4 separate regions of the Homo sapiens genome follow, and all the other regions are linked to region 1. The links are contacts of gene promoters, found by promoter capture Hi-C in human tissues and cell types (Jung and others, 2019). All regions are on one chromosome and are shown on one strand. Each heading gives the region's core, a stretch centred on a gene start or on the middle of the fragment in contact. The rest is flanking DNA. Distances are from core to core; before and after follow the strand shown. Region 1 holds the start of FAM171A2 (family with sequence similarity 171 member A2). Region 2 has its middle 19 kb from the start of PYY. Region 3 holds the start of DBF4B (DBF4B-CDC7 kinase regulatory subunit). Region 4 holds the start of MPP2 (MAGUK p55 scaffold protein 2).

Region 1 (3,055 bases), core at 450-2,949:
CAACTAGAAGTGAAACATCATGCCTTGGAATTGCCAGATAAACATTCCTTGGCCTTTGTTGTACACATCGAAAGAATTGATGGCGTGAGTTTACTGGTGCAGAGAACCATTGTAAGACTTTGCCTAAAGAAAATTTTTAGTGGTGTCTTTGTAAAAGTCACCCCCCAGAACCTAAAAATGCTGCGTATGGTGGAACCTTATGTGACCTGGGGATTTCCAAATCTGAAGTCTGTCCAGGAACTCATTTTGAAACATGGACAAGCCAAGGTCAGGAATAAGGAATAAGACCATTCCTCTGACAGACAACACAGTGATTGAGAAGCACCTGGGGAAGTTTGGTGTCGTTTGCTTGGAAGACCTCAGTCATGAAATTGCCGTCCCAGGGAAGCATTTCCAGGAGGTCTCATGGTTGTTACGCCCTTTCTACCTCTCAGTGGCCCGTCATGCTACCAAAAATACAGTGGGCTTCCTCAAGGAGATGGGCACACCTGGCTATCAGGGTGAACGCATCAGTCAGCTCATCCGCCAGCTGAACTAGACCCAGGTGCCAAACTGCAGTAAATTTTTATTAATGAAGTGGAAGCATGGGTAGTAGAAGCATGTGTTTTTGTTTTTTTGGGAATTTTTATCAAGTATCTTCAGAGAAGATTATTTCCAGCTTTATCTTCAAAAACTGGAAAGGAAGGGTCAAAGAAAAGACAGAAGCTCACGCCTGTAATCCCAGCACTTTGGGAGGCCGAGGCGGGTAGATCACTTGAGATCAGGAGTTCGAGACCAGCCTGGCCAACATAGTGAAACGCTGTCTCTACTAAAAATACAAAAATTAGCCGGGCATGGTGGCGTGCACCTGTAGTCCCAGCTACTTGGGAGGCTGAGGCAGGAGAATCACTTGAACCCGGGAGGCAGAGGTTGCAGTGAGCCAAGATCACGCCACTGCACTCCAGCCTGGGCAACAGAGCAAGACTCTCTCTCAAAAAAAAAAAAAAAAAAAAAAAGAAGGAGAAGAAACAGTAGCTTATGTTCATGGCAAGCACCTCTAATCACAGTCCAGTTTCCAAGGAAAAATTCCAGCGTTTTAGTTTAATGTCGGTAAGTGAGTAACTCTAGCATTTGTACAAGGCTCCCTAAGACTCCTGCACCAGTCGGCCAAGCCCAGGGACATAATTGAATTTGGAGATTCTTGGGGCCTTGTTTTGAAAAAGACTTGAAATAGGAAGAAAGGCCCAAAAATAAATGTTCACTTGTCTCTGAAAAAAAAAAATCTGTCTCAAAAAAAAAAAAAAGAGAGACTTAGGGGGGTCTAGGGGGCCTTCCCTGCTATCACCCCAGCACTGCCTAGGTGTTCTACCGGGAGAAGGGGGCCATCGAGCAGGGAGTTCTTACAGTTTTCTGAGACTTTCATGACCGTACCCCTTGAGAGTGTTGTAGGCAATATCCACTCCCCACCTACACACACACAAATTTTGCACCAAATTTTGGGGACTCTCGAAACCCAAGAACCCGGGTGATGGGACCCTAATCCCGACACTCCTTTGCAGCGCAGAGTCTGGGAGCGCAGAGCGCGGGGGCTGCGGGGTGGGCTGAAGGTGGGCAGTACCGGGGGGCGGCGGGCGGAGCGGGGCCGGGAGGGGGCGGTGCCGGAGGGCCAGCGGTGTGGCGCGCCGCCTGCAGGGGGCGCTTGCGGCGGCTCCGGTCGGAGACAATCGCGCTGAGCGGGCGCCGCAGCGGGAGCGGGAGCCGGAGCTGCGAGGCGCGGCGCAGAGCTGGGGCTGCGCGGGGCCGGGCGAGCGGGACCAGGCGGGAGCCATGGACCGCTAGGGCCCGGCCTAGCCCCGCGATGCCGCCGGCGAGTGGCCCCAGCGTCCTCGCGCGGCTGTTGCCGCTGCTGGGGCTGCTGCTCGGCAGCGCCTCCCGGGCTCCCGGCAAGTCGCCGCCGGAGCCCCCCAGCCCGCAGGGTGAGTCTCAGCCGGGAGGGGCCGCGATCGCGGGCCTGCGCCCCCTGATCAGGCTCCCGCCCGTCAGCCCCCTCTTCGCGGCGTTCGTGAATTGAGTGGTATTCTGTTCCCTGGATTCGGGTGGGGGGAGCTAAGCGATCTGGGGTTGGCGCTTCTGGGGGAAAGTGGAGGCGGGGAGAGGGAGGCCGTCCGGGGCGGGGGTCTTGGGGAGACACAATGGGTAGTGCGAGGGTCCCCAGGATCTGCGCCGCCGCCCTCTCCCTATTTGTTTTTCTCCCTCCTGGTCCGCGAGGCGCTGCTGCCTGAGCCATTGTCTACCGAAGACACCCGCCCAGGGGCGGGCTGGGGCGGGCGCCTGCTCCGCAGCCCCCTGCGGGTTGCTCGCTCCCGACCCTGGCGGGGTGGGGGCGCCGGCATCCGCTGCCACCCTAGGCCGGGACCGGAGGCTGGGAGCCTGGAGCTGGGTTTGAAGGGGGGAGGGGAGAAGGGGGAGTGGGTGAGGCTGTGGGCGGGATTGACTGCTCTAATGGGGTTCTTTGCCCTGGAGCCTGACAGCTCCCAGCCAGCCCCCCTGGTTTAGAGTTTGGGGTGCACCAAATAAATGCTTGTGAGCCTATGATGGAGGACGAGCCGCAGTTGTGGGCCTCTAAGAAAAGGGGGTACATTGTGATTCCCAGCTGAGGGAGCATGGCAGGCTTGTGGTCGTGGAGCCATGCTGAGCTAGCTGGCTGTGGGCAGTGCCGGCTGGGAGGGCAGGTGCCTGGGTCCCCCCCCATTCAGCAGGCCTCCTGGCATTCCTGTCCCCTGCCCGCCCCCATATCACCCCCTCCTCATCTCACATCTTCGCAGTGGAGGAGACCCTTCCCAGCGACTCACCGGGCGCAGGTGGGTGTGTGAGGTGGGGGTGGGGCCGGCTCCTGCAGCAGGAAAGGGTGGGGGAGCAAGACCCTGACAACACATCCCACAGGCAGGCCTGGACGCTTGGGGGCCTCCGCCCACTCCAGTCCTGAGTCCACCTCCCGGGTCCTGCTCTCCCTCTCCTGCCTGTGGGCCCCATCCCTGCCTGAAGCAGTATTCACTCCTCACCCCCCACACTAAGG
Region 2 (3,259 bases), core at 97-2,596, 390 kb after region 1:
AACAATAGCAAGAAAATGTAGCACGTTATGGGGTGCTTACATTGAGCTGGCAACAGTCCTGAGCTTCTGACAGCCATTATTTCATTCAATCCTCCTAACCCTTTACGGGCACTTTTATGACCTATTTTTCACAGATGACAAAACCAAAGCTCAGAGATGAAATGATTTGCTCACACCACAGAGACTGGGTGAACAATTGACACAGGGTTTGAAGCAGGTTTTGTCGGATTCTGGAGTGGGGCTTTGAGCAACCATGGGACACCTCCCTCCAAAGGTGCCTGCGTGTTCACCTAGAACCATCCCCCACTGCCTGCCCTTCCACCCCACCCTCTACTAGTAAAGGGGGCAGTTTGTGCAGGACGGTCTGAATCTGCCTGTTGCTTCTCTTCTGCTTGCACAGTAGCATCCGGGGACACAAATGTTATGTGCGGGAAATGCGCGAGGGAAGAAAAGACACACCCACGATACCTTTAAGGGTAAACAACCTTTATCCCATGTAAATGGCAATGTAGATATAATAAGCAAATGATATAATAATAAGCAGATTGATATAATAAGCAAATTGCAATGGGAAGGGGAGAAGGGAAAAGATATTCATACTCACCAGACTATGGAGGATTCACCACCAGACTGGGAAGCAACAGCCTGGGTCGGCTCCAGAGTCGGCCACTTGTCCGTGCACAGACAAGGAAGAGGTCTCATGAAGCTTTGGCACAATCTAGGACCCTAGCTCTTTTGTAACGAGTTGTTTGGCATGAGGTCCAGGCACGAAGGCCCTTCGTGACCAGGCTCAAGGAACACAAAAAGGTCAACTTGTTTTTGCGATTGTCTGTTGTTTTTCTTATATACTTATTTATTTATTTTTTGAGACGGAGTCGTGCTTTGTCACCCAGGCTGGAGTGCAGAGGCACGATCTTGGCTCACTGCAATCTCTGCCTTCCCGGTTCAAGTGATTCTCCTGCCTCAGCCTCCCAAACAGCTGGGATTACAGGTGGCCGCCACCATGCCTGGCTAATTTTTGTATTTTTAGTAGAGACGGGGTTTCACCAAGTTGGCCAGGCTGATCTCGAACTCCTGGACTTCAGGTGATCCACCCACCTTGGCCTCCCAAAGTGCTGGGATTACAGACGTGAGCAACCACGCCCAGCTTTGTTTTTCAGTAACGTATAGGAATAGATTGAAATAGAGATTTCTCCAAAACAGCGCTGGATGAATGCCTCAAGGGGCTCACACAGCCCCTTCTGGTACTTGGTGACCATTGTTTGTGTCCATGTTCAATTGAGTTCAGATTTAATATTTAACTTTTCCTCCACAACGACCTAGGATGTGATCCCACACCAGGCACAAACCCCAGAGACTCTCCTGATCTGTCAGTAGCCACCCATGGGTGCTTACAGTAGGAGGGTGGCTTGCCTAGGAAGCCAGGAATTTATCTTTAAGTGACAAACACTTTTTAAAAACTTACTTTCAGGTTCTGTTCTAAGCACTTTAGAAATAACTTTTTTTTTTTAAATGACTTTTTTGGCAGAGTGCTGTGGCCCACATCTGTAATCCAGCACTTTGGGAGGCTGAAGCAGGAGGATCACTTGAGGCCAGGAGTTTGAGACCAGCCTGGGCAACATAGTGAGATCGTGTCTCAACAAAAATAGGCTGGGTGCGGTGGCTCACGCCTGTAATCCCGGCACTTTGGGAGGCTGAGGCGGGCGGATCACGAGGTCAAGAGGTCAAGACCATCCTGGCCAACATGGTGAAACACCGTCTCTACTAAAAATACAAAAATTAGGTGGGCTTGGTGGCACGCCTGTAGTCCCAGCTACCTGGGAGGCTGAGGCAGGAGAATCGCTTGAACTCAGGAGGCGGAGGTTGCGGTGAACCGAGATCACGCCACTGCACCCCAGCCTAGCGACAGAGTGAGACTCTGTCTCAAAAAAACAAAACAAAACCAAAAATAAATACTAATACAAATTAGCCGGGTATAGTGGTGCATGCCTGTTTGCCTAGCAACTAGGAAGGCTGAGGTGGGAAGATCGTTTGAGCTCACGAGTTCAAGGTTACAGTGAGCTATGACTGTGCCACTGCATTCCAGCCTCGGTGATTGAGATCCTGTCTCAAAAAAAAAAATGTTTTTTAAAGTAACATAAAGTTGGCCGGGTGTGGCGGCTCACGCCTGTAATCCCAGTGCTTTGGGAGGCTGAGGCAGGCAGATCACCTGAGGTCAGGAGTTTGAGACCAGCCTGGCCCAACATGGTGAAATCCCATCTCTACTAAAAAAAATACAAAATTAGCCCGGCGTGGTGACACACAGCTGTAGTCCTAGCTATTCAGGAGGCTAAGACAGGAGATTACTTGAACCTGGGAGGTGGAGGTTGCAGCAGGCCAAGATCACGCCACTGCACTCCAGCCTGGGTGACAAAATGAGACTCCCTCTCTCAATAAATAAATAAATAAATAAATAAATAAATAAATAAAATAAAATAAAATAAATAAATAACTAAAGTAACATAAAATAAAATTGACCATTTTGTTGGTGTACAGCTTTATGAGCTTTAACACATGTATAGATTCCTAGACCCAATAATGGTGTCTGAACAATAAACATTCATACACAAAAAAGAGAATTTCAACCGAAACCTCATACCTTATACAAAAATTAGCTCAAAAGGGAAAGCAATGTAAAATAATAAAACTTTAGAGAAAAGTAGGGGAAAATCTTCATGACCTCAGTTTAGGCAAATAGTTCTTAGACTGGACACCCAAAAGAATGAGTCACAAAAGAGAACAATTGATAAATTGGACTTCATCATAAATAAAAACTTTTGTTCTATGAAAGACAGGGTTAAGAAAACGAAAAAACCAGCTACGGACTGAAAGAAAATAGTTGCAAATCACATATTCAGCAAAAGACTTGTATCCAGAATATATAAAGAACCCTTCAAACTCAACAATAAGAAAACCAACAACCCACTTAAAAAAAAAAAAACCACATGAACAGACACTGCACCAAGGAGGATATAAAGATGGCAGATAAGCACATGAATAGATGTTTGACATCATTAGACAACAGAAAGATGCAATTTTTTTTTTTTTTTTTGAGACAGAGCCTTGCTCTGTCACCCAGGCTGGAGTGTGGTGGCATGATCTTGGCTCACTGCAACCTACACCTCCCAGGTTCAAGTGATTCTCTTGCCTCAGCCTACTGAGTAGCTGGGATTACAGACTTGTGTCACCATGCCCGGCCAATTTTTATATTTTTAGTAGA
Region 3 (3,034 bases), core at 44-2,543, 340 kb before region 1:
TCGTGATCCGCCCGCCTTGGCCTCCCAAAGTGCTGGGATTACAGGCGTGAGCAGCCGCGCCCGGCCAACTAGATGATATTAACTAAAGGGGCAGTACGGAGGGAAGTGCCATGTGCTAAAATACTTACCTAATTAGGTAGCAGTGTTTAACTTAAGGATTTTATTGTAAACAACTATGAATGTATTAATTTATATATTTAATAAGTCACTCTATCCTGACTCCACATCTGTCTGTTAATCTTGTTCATAATATGACTCTTACTTGACCTTTATCATGAATCCCAAAACGGTCTATGATGCTGCGTCCATACACACACACACATAAAACCACTAAGTGGGCCTGGTGAAGTGGCTCACACCTGTAATCCCAGCATTTTGGGAGGCCTAGGCAGGAGAACTGCTTGAGGCCAGGAGTTTGAGACCAGCTTGGCCAACACAGCAAGACCCCATCCCAATAAATAAAATGAATAAATAAGTACATAAAAACACTGAGTGATCGAAAACTCCAACAGGGGGAACATTTTTCGGTCTTCTCCAAGAGACCCTGGGGCAATTTTCACCTCACGTCCCTAGTTCTGTCCTGTTACCCACCTAGGTCCGGGGCCCGGAGCCTACTCTCAGCCATGGAACTCTCCAGCTCGAGGCAATCGTCTCCTGAGAAAGGACATAACAGCAACTCAACCATCTTCACCAACCCTTGGAACTTCCATGCCTCCCGCCCACTACTGTCTCCCAAAACGCGCACAGAAACGCGACTCCTGGGAACAGCAAGACTCAACTCCATTCCGACCTACATCCCGCGACTCCCGCCAGGCTCTTGCCCCTCATGCCCTCCGCCTCCTTTCAGACTCCGTTCAGTCAACGGCCGTGACCTCTTGGCCACCTCCTGTCCATCTCAATCTCCATACATCCCTCCAGGCTGTTGTCCCCTACGTTCCTCTGCCACCTTCATTCCTCGGTCCCCTCAACTCCTGTGGCTCCTTCCCGGCCCCTATACCCTCCTCAGCTTCGGCACCTACCCGCTGGTCACTTCCTAAGCCCCCTCCACGACTCCGCACCTCGCCTCAGCTATTAACGACCCCTTCCGCCTTTCTTTCTCCCCTTCCCGGCATCCGTACCCTTTCCCGGTTCGCTCATCAAATGCCGGCTCCTTCTCGGCCTCCGTACTCCTTCCTCAGAGGCCTCCGTATTACATTCGCGAGCTCCATGAGCTCTTCCCGATTCCACAGTCCTGGTTATCTCAGGGCAGCTACAGCATCAATCTCTTGGCGTTTTCGGCCGCGGCTTCAGTTTAAATTTCCTGCCGGCTCCACCCCTAAAAGAACGCCGTAGCTGCGAGATCCGCCCTACGGTGTCCTTGGAAGGACAATATTAGTTTCGCGATTCCTCTTTCCGTTCCCCCACCGCCTACGTCTTCTCAAACCGTCTCTTCATTTCTTGGCTCTTCACTGGCTAGACGGCTTTGCCCCTTAATGGCCCTCAAGTTGAGGACTAGTGGTCGCTTTTTAGTGATTCTTCACACTGAGCTGCATTGAAATTCCTAGAAGTTTGAATACTAAATAACAAAATAAGCCTAACACTTGCAGAGCATTTGCAGTTTACATAAAGATTTCACTTACACATCATTTCATCTTCACATTTTTGTCCCCCTCCCGTTCTTCAATTATTACCTGCCCAACAAAACTTCTCAAAAGACGTATCTTTATCCCTCACTTCCCATCTTTTCTTCAACCCATCTAATTAGACTGCTAATTAGAGATCAAATTTGATCTAATAAGAGATCATTCAGTGGAGAGCTGGGGACCTCCCCACAAAAACTGTACTTATCCAGGTCAACTGTGATTTCCACAGTCTGAAATACTATCCTTATCATATCCAACTTATAGATGGACTATTCCTTCTTTGAAATACTTTCTTCTTTTTGCTTCCATGACTCAGCACTCTACCGTTTTTTTCCCTATCTCAATGGTTCCTCCTCAGTCCCCTTTGCTGGATCCAAAGCCACTGTTCACCTATATATTTTGGAGTATGCCAACGCTTTAGCCCTTATCCCTCTCCCTTATCTCCCTAGGAGATCTCATCCAGCTCCACAGCTTTACAATTCAGCTCTGCCACACCTTCAGATTTTCTGTAGCTCTGACCTGTCTGATCTCCAGACTCACATATTCAAGTGCCTACTGGCTATTTCAATTTGGATGTCTAATAGGCACCTCAGGCTGAACACATTCAAAACAGAACATTTGTTTCGCTGCCCCTGTCAAAAAACCACCTGTTCTCCCCCCAGGTCTTCCCCTCTCAGTAAAATGTTACTGTTTACTCAAATGTCACAATCATTCACCCAGTTGCTCAAACCAAAAACCTAGAAGTTGTCTTTCAGTACTTTCCCTTGTGCCCATCCCCACTCCAAGAAAAAAATCCTACTAACTCTGCCTCCAAAGTACATCTGGAATCAGACCACCACCACCCTAGTTCAAGCTGCTATCATTTCTTGCCTAAAGTACTGCGGTCAATTCTTCACTTCTACTCCCGAGTAGCTTCCTATCTCTCCCCAGTATAATCCATTCTCCATTCAGCAACCAGAGTGATAGTTTTTATATTTATTTATTTTTTTATTGAGAGGGAGTCTCGCTCTGTCGCCCAGGCTGGAGTGCAGTGGCGCAATCTTGGCTCACTGCAACCTTTGCCTCCCGGGTTCAGGCCATTCTCCTGCCTCAGCCTCCCGAGTAGCTGGGATTACAGGTGCCTGCCACCATGCCCGGCTAATTTTTGTATTTTAGTAGAGTCGGGGTTTCACCAGGTTGGCCAGGCTGGTCTCGAACTCCTGACCTCAGGTGATTCATCCGCCTCGGCCTCCCAAAGTGCTGAGATTACAGGTGTGAGCCACCGCGCCTGGCCCAGGGTGATATTTTTTAAACACTGGTAGAGGTATATACAGTACATAAACTTGGTATCTCTTCCAGTGGGACTCCTCCCTGAGGAAGCTTATACATCTCAGCCCTGATGAACGAACGAAGCCTTGGCCATATGACTTGCT
Region 4 (3,309 bases), core at 512-3,011, 460 kb after region 1:
GTCAGGAGTTCGAGACCAGCCTGACCAACATGGAGAAACCCTGTCTCTACTAAAAATACAAAATTAGCCAGGCATGGTGGCGCATACCTGTAATCCCAGCTACTCGGGAAGCTGAGGCAGGAGAATTGCTTGAACCCGGGAGGCAGAGGTTGCGACGAGCCGAGATCATGCCATTGCACCCCAGCCTGGGCAACAAGAGCGAAACTCCGTCTCAAAAAATAAAAATAAAAAAGAAGAAGAAGAAGAAGGATTTTCTAGCTTGCAGATAGAGGAAAGAGCTGCAAGCAATGCGCTCCAAGAACCCTCTTTGTTTAGAGACCAAAGCCTGCAATTCCTGTCAAAGCTATCTGGGTTCGATGGCTTTCTTCTCTCAGTAAAAGCCTGGGTCACCTAAACAATGTGGTTTTCAGCAGTTCGGCCGCCTCTGTGGCTTTTTCCTATATCCAAACTTATACCCTTGGAACTCAGGGGAGAGCTGAGTCTTGGAACCCAGGGACCAGTCCCCTGCTTTCGGGATAGATTCCCATTTCTGAGATTTCCAAGCAAGTTTCCAGAATGTAATCCATTTCTTTTCTTTTTGTTTCTTTTGAGACAGGGTCTCACTCTGTTGCCCAGGCTGGAGTGCGGTGTTGCAATCTCGGCTCACTGCAGCCTCAGCTTCCCAAGTAGCTGGGACTACAGGCGCGCGCTACCACGCCCAGCTAATTTTGTTTATTTTATTTTTTGTAGCGATGGGGTTTCACTATGTTGCTTGGGCTAGTCTCGAACTCCTAGGCTCAACCGATGCTCCCGCCTCCGACTCCCAAAGTGTTGGGATTATGGGAGTGAGCCACCGCGCCCGGCCAAAGATGCAGTCCATTTATGATCTTAGGAATCCAGTTAGCAAGGAAAAGGGATGACTCTCACATTTTGTTCAGGGCAACTGGACGGGGTGGCTGAACGCCGAGGTCGGAGAAGTAGCGTAGCTGGCCCCAAATGCTAGTCGCACTGCACAGAGCCTCCCGTATTTGGAGGCCCAGCATCTTTTACTAGCAGATGTGGGGTGGAGCCGGAGGCTGGGCGAAGGCGGGCCAGTGGGTTTAACCCTTTATTTACTTTTTGGGCTGGGACTCTGAGGAAGGCTAGCCAGTTACTTCTTTATTCCATAGGCAGGAAAATGGACCAGGCCTCCCTCACCTAGACCTAAAAGAGGCTCTCGAATCCTTTCAGGAAGACATTTCCTCTTTTTTGCAAAATTTCTGGAAAGTCTGGAATCCGGATATCCACCCTCTGAGTCCTTAAAAAGCTGCCCCTGATCCCGAGGCCTTCTGGGGCTGGTATCCTGCTTCCTGGGAGTCTCTCTGAAGTCCTCCTATTCTTTTTCTCAATATGGAAGCAGGATAACGAGGAAAAGTGAGGCACGCCTGGAACTAGAACGCCGGTCTAAGCCAAGATGGGTGGGCGGAGTAATCAAGCCGGTCTCATTAGGCACTTTTACCATCGCCCCTTTAAGGGATCCTTGGGAGCCGAGGGGCACCAGCGGGTACTGGTACCAGTCCTGCCTCCCTAACCCTTCCCAGTGGGACTCCAGCAGGGCGTCGTGGTCTGTGCGGTGTCTCCCAAACCACTACCTGGCTGCCCCCGTACCAGCTGCTGGGAAAGACTACTTCCTCCGAGTTGTGCCGGCCTCCGCGTTCTCCTCACCTCCCCTCTCCTCCGGACCTCCGCCCCCTCGCGGAGAGGCCTTGCCGCTTTAAGAGCCGGGCTAGCGATTGACAAGCAATAAACGCTGAGCGCCCGGCTGCGCTGGAGCCGCCCGGAGCTAGGGGCTTCCCGGGGCGCAGGTAGGCGTCCCCCGGCCCCCGGGCCAGCTCCTATCCCAAGACCTCCGCCTTCTTTTCGTCCTGACACGGCACTTAGGACCCTATTCACTGGGTTTAAACTCCACAGGCCCCTTTCACCCAGGCCCGTTCCCTCCCTGTCCACCCGCCCCCGCCCCTGGGCCCTCTTTCTGGGGTGCTGGTTGGGAGAACCAAGCCCCGCTGCCCATTGACACTGGTCCCCGCCCCTGCGGTAGGGGCTCCAAAGTGGCTTCAGGCACCAAGGTGGTGAGCTGTGAGGGGCCCCGGTATCTGCGCGGCCTCCCCGGGGGCTGTGCGGGTTGGGGGTACTTAGAAGCCCGGCATTACGTAAGAACCGTGCTGTTAGCGCTTCCGGGGGTTGGGGAGCGAGACAGAGGTTGCGCTGGGTCCCGGTGGCCCCCTGGTCCCCCTAGGCAGCTAACACCACAATCTTCCCTGGGAGGGGGTCCGCAGAAGGGCGCGCGCTGCTTCTCCCGCTTCCCAAGCTGTAGCGGGGCGGGTCGGGAGCCAGGGTTAGGGTCTGGAGACTTGGGAGGGGACCGGTGCCAGAAGCGAAGAGCTAGGGTTAGAAAGTTAGGTCAATTAAGGGGGGGGCGGTGCGGATAAAGACGGGGTGGGGGTTGGCCGGGGCAGTCATTTAGTGACCTCATCCCTGGTCTCCGGCGGGCGCGCACGTAGAGAGCCTTCTTTGATGGCTCACAACACGCCCCCCTCCCCCAGGTCCTAGCGCCCAGGGTGTTAGGGCTGGGTCCGTTGGGGCAGGGGTGATCTGATGGTCCAAGCATGCACGTCCGCCTGGCCTTTCGACCCCATCCTCTGGCCCTCAGTTCTGTCCAGACCTCCCCGCGACCTCTCGCTCTCCAAAGCGCCTTTGTCAGACCTTTCTTCTCCGCACCTCTTTGTATGTGTATGGATGGAGGGATGGGTGGGAGGTTGGAAGAAACCTCTCCCTTTCACTGCTGGTCCGCTCGCCTGCGGACACTATGGGTGATGTGGATATCTCGGAGGCAGAGCTGAGAGGGCATCTGGGCCCAGGCTTTTGGAAGCCGAGGTGCAGGTTCCCAGATGTCTGGGTGCAGGACCTTGGCACGGAGCCAGGCTAGCTTGCCTGGCACTGCCGTTCTCCTGTGGACACAGCCAGGCCCCGCCCTCTCAGAGGCTTGGACGGGCGTGGGGGAGCAAAGCCAGCCGATGCTCTGGGAACCGATTCCCCGGGAGAAAACCCAGGCAGGCTGGGCAAGACTTCCGAGCGCAGGGATTTCATACAGGATCCTCCCTGCCTTTTCCCGCCCTCCACGCTCTAGGGAAGGAGGACTTCTGGAGTCCCTTCTCTGACCCTGTGAGGGAGAGCAGCGCCAGCCAGGAGAAGGCTCCAGGTCATCAAGGCCTGGGAGGGGGAGGGAAGGGATCCCTCCTCCCTGCTCTCTAGGAGTAGAGATTGGCACCAGGGGCACGGGCCAGCACAGTG

What was found. Contacts are between HindIII fragments. The study calls those that stand out against the background at their distance.
Region 2: a contact is called between a fragment that was not itself captured here and the fragment with the promoter of FAM171A2 in region 1, in 1 of the 25 tissues and cell types used here (aorta).
Region 3: a contact is called between the fragment with the promoter of DBF4B here and the fragment with the promoter of FAM171A2 in region 1, in 4 of the 25 tissues and cell types used here (IMR-90 fibroblasts, dorsolateral prefrontal cortex, mesendoderm cells and 1 more).
Region 4: the fragment with the promoter of MPP2 here is called in contact with the fragment with the promoter of FAM171A2 in region 1 in 1 of the 25 tissues and cell types used here (spleen).

Annotation. Positions count from the first base shown.
Region 1 is chr17:44,362,497-44,365,551 of GRCh38, reverse strand. It overlaps FAM171A2 (family with sequence similarity 171 member A2), which reads left to right and starts at 1,699. Exons shown (of 8, transcript NM_198475.3): 1 at 1,699-1,955. The coding sequence starts at 1,838. It also overlaps the pseudogene RPL7L1P5. RefSeq lists a silencer at 1,608-1,987. The HindIII fragment of the contact is 16,504 bases long and covers 1-3,055 here.
Region 2 is chr17:43,971,402-43,974,660 of GRCh38, reverse strand. It overlaps a transcript of PYY not described here. Among named protein-coding and RNA genes, the nearest start is that of PYY, 19 kb to the right of the region's middle. The HindIII fragment of the contact is 8,321 bases long and covers 1-3,259 here.
Region 3 is chr17:44,706,924-44,709,957 of GRCh38, reverse strand. DBF4B (DBF4B-CDC7 kinase regulatory subunit) reads right to left here and starts at 1,293. Exons shown (of 14, transcript NM_145663.3): 1 at 1,119-1,293; 2 at 592-654. The coding sequence starts at 1,137. RefSeq lists enhancers at 459-972, 973-1,487. The HindIII fragment of the contact is 13,873 bases long and covers 1-3,034 here.
Region 4 is chr17:43,905,988-43,909,296 of GRCh38, reverse strand. It overlaps MPP2 (MAGUK p55 scaffold protein 2), which reads left to right and starts at 1,761. Exons shown (of 13, transcript NM_005374.5): 1 at 1,761-1,823. RefSeq lists an enhancer at 1,602-1,751. The HindIII fragment of the contact is 11,562 bases long and covers 1-3,309 here.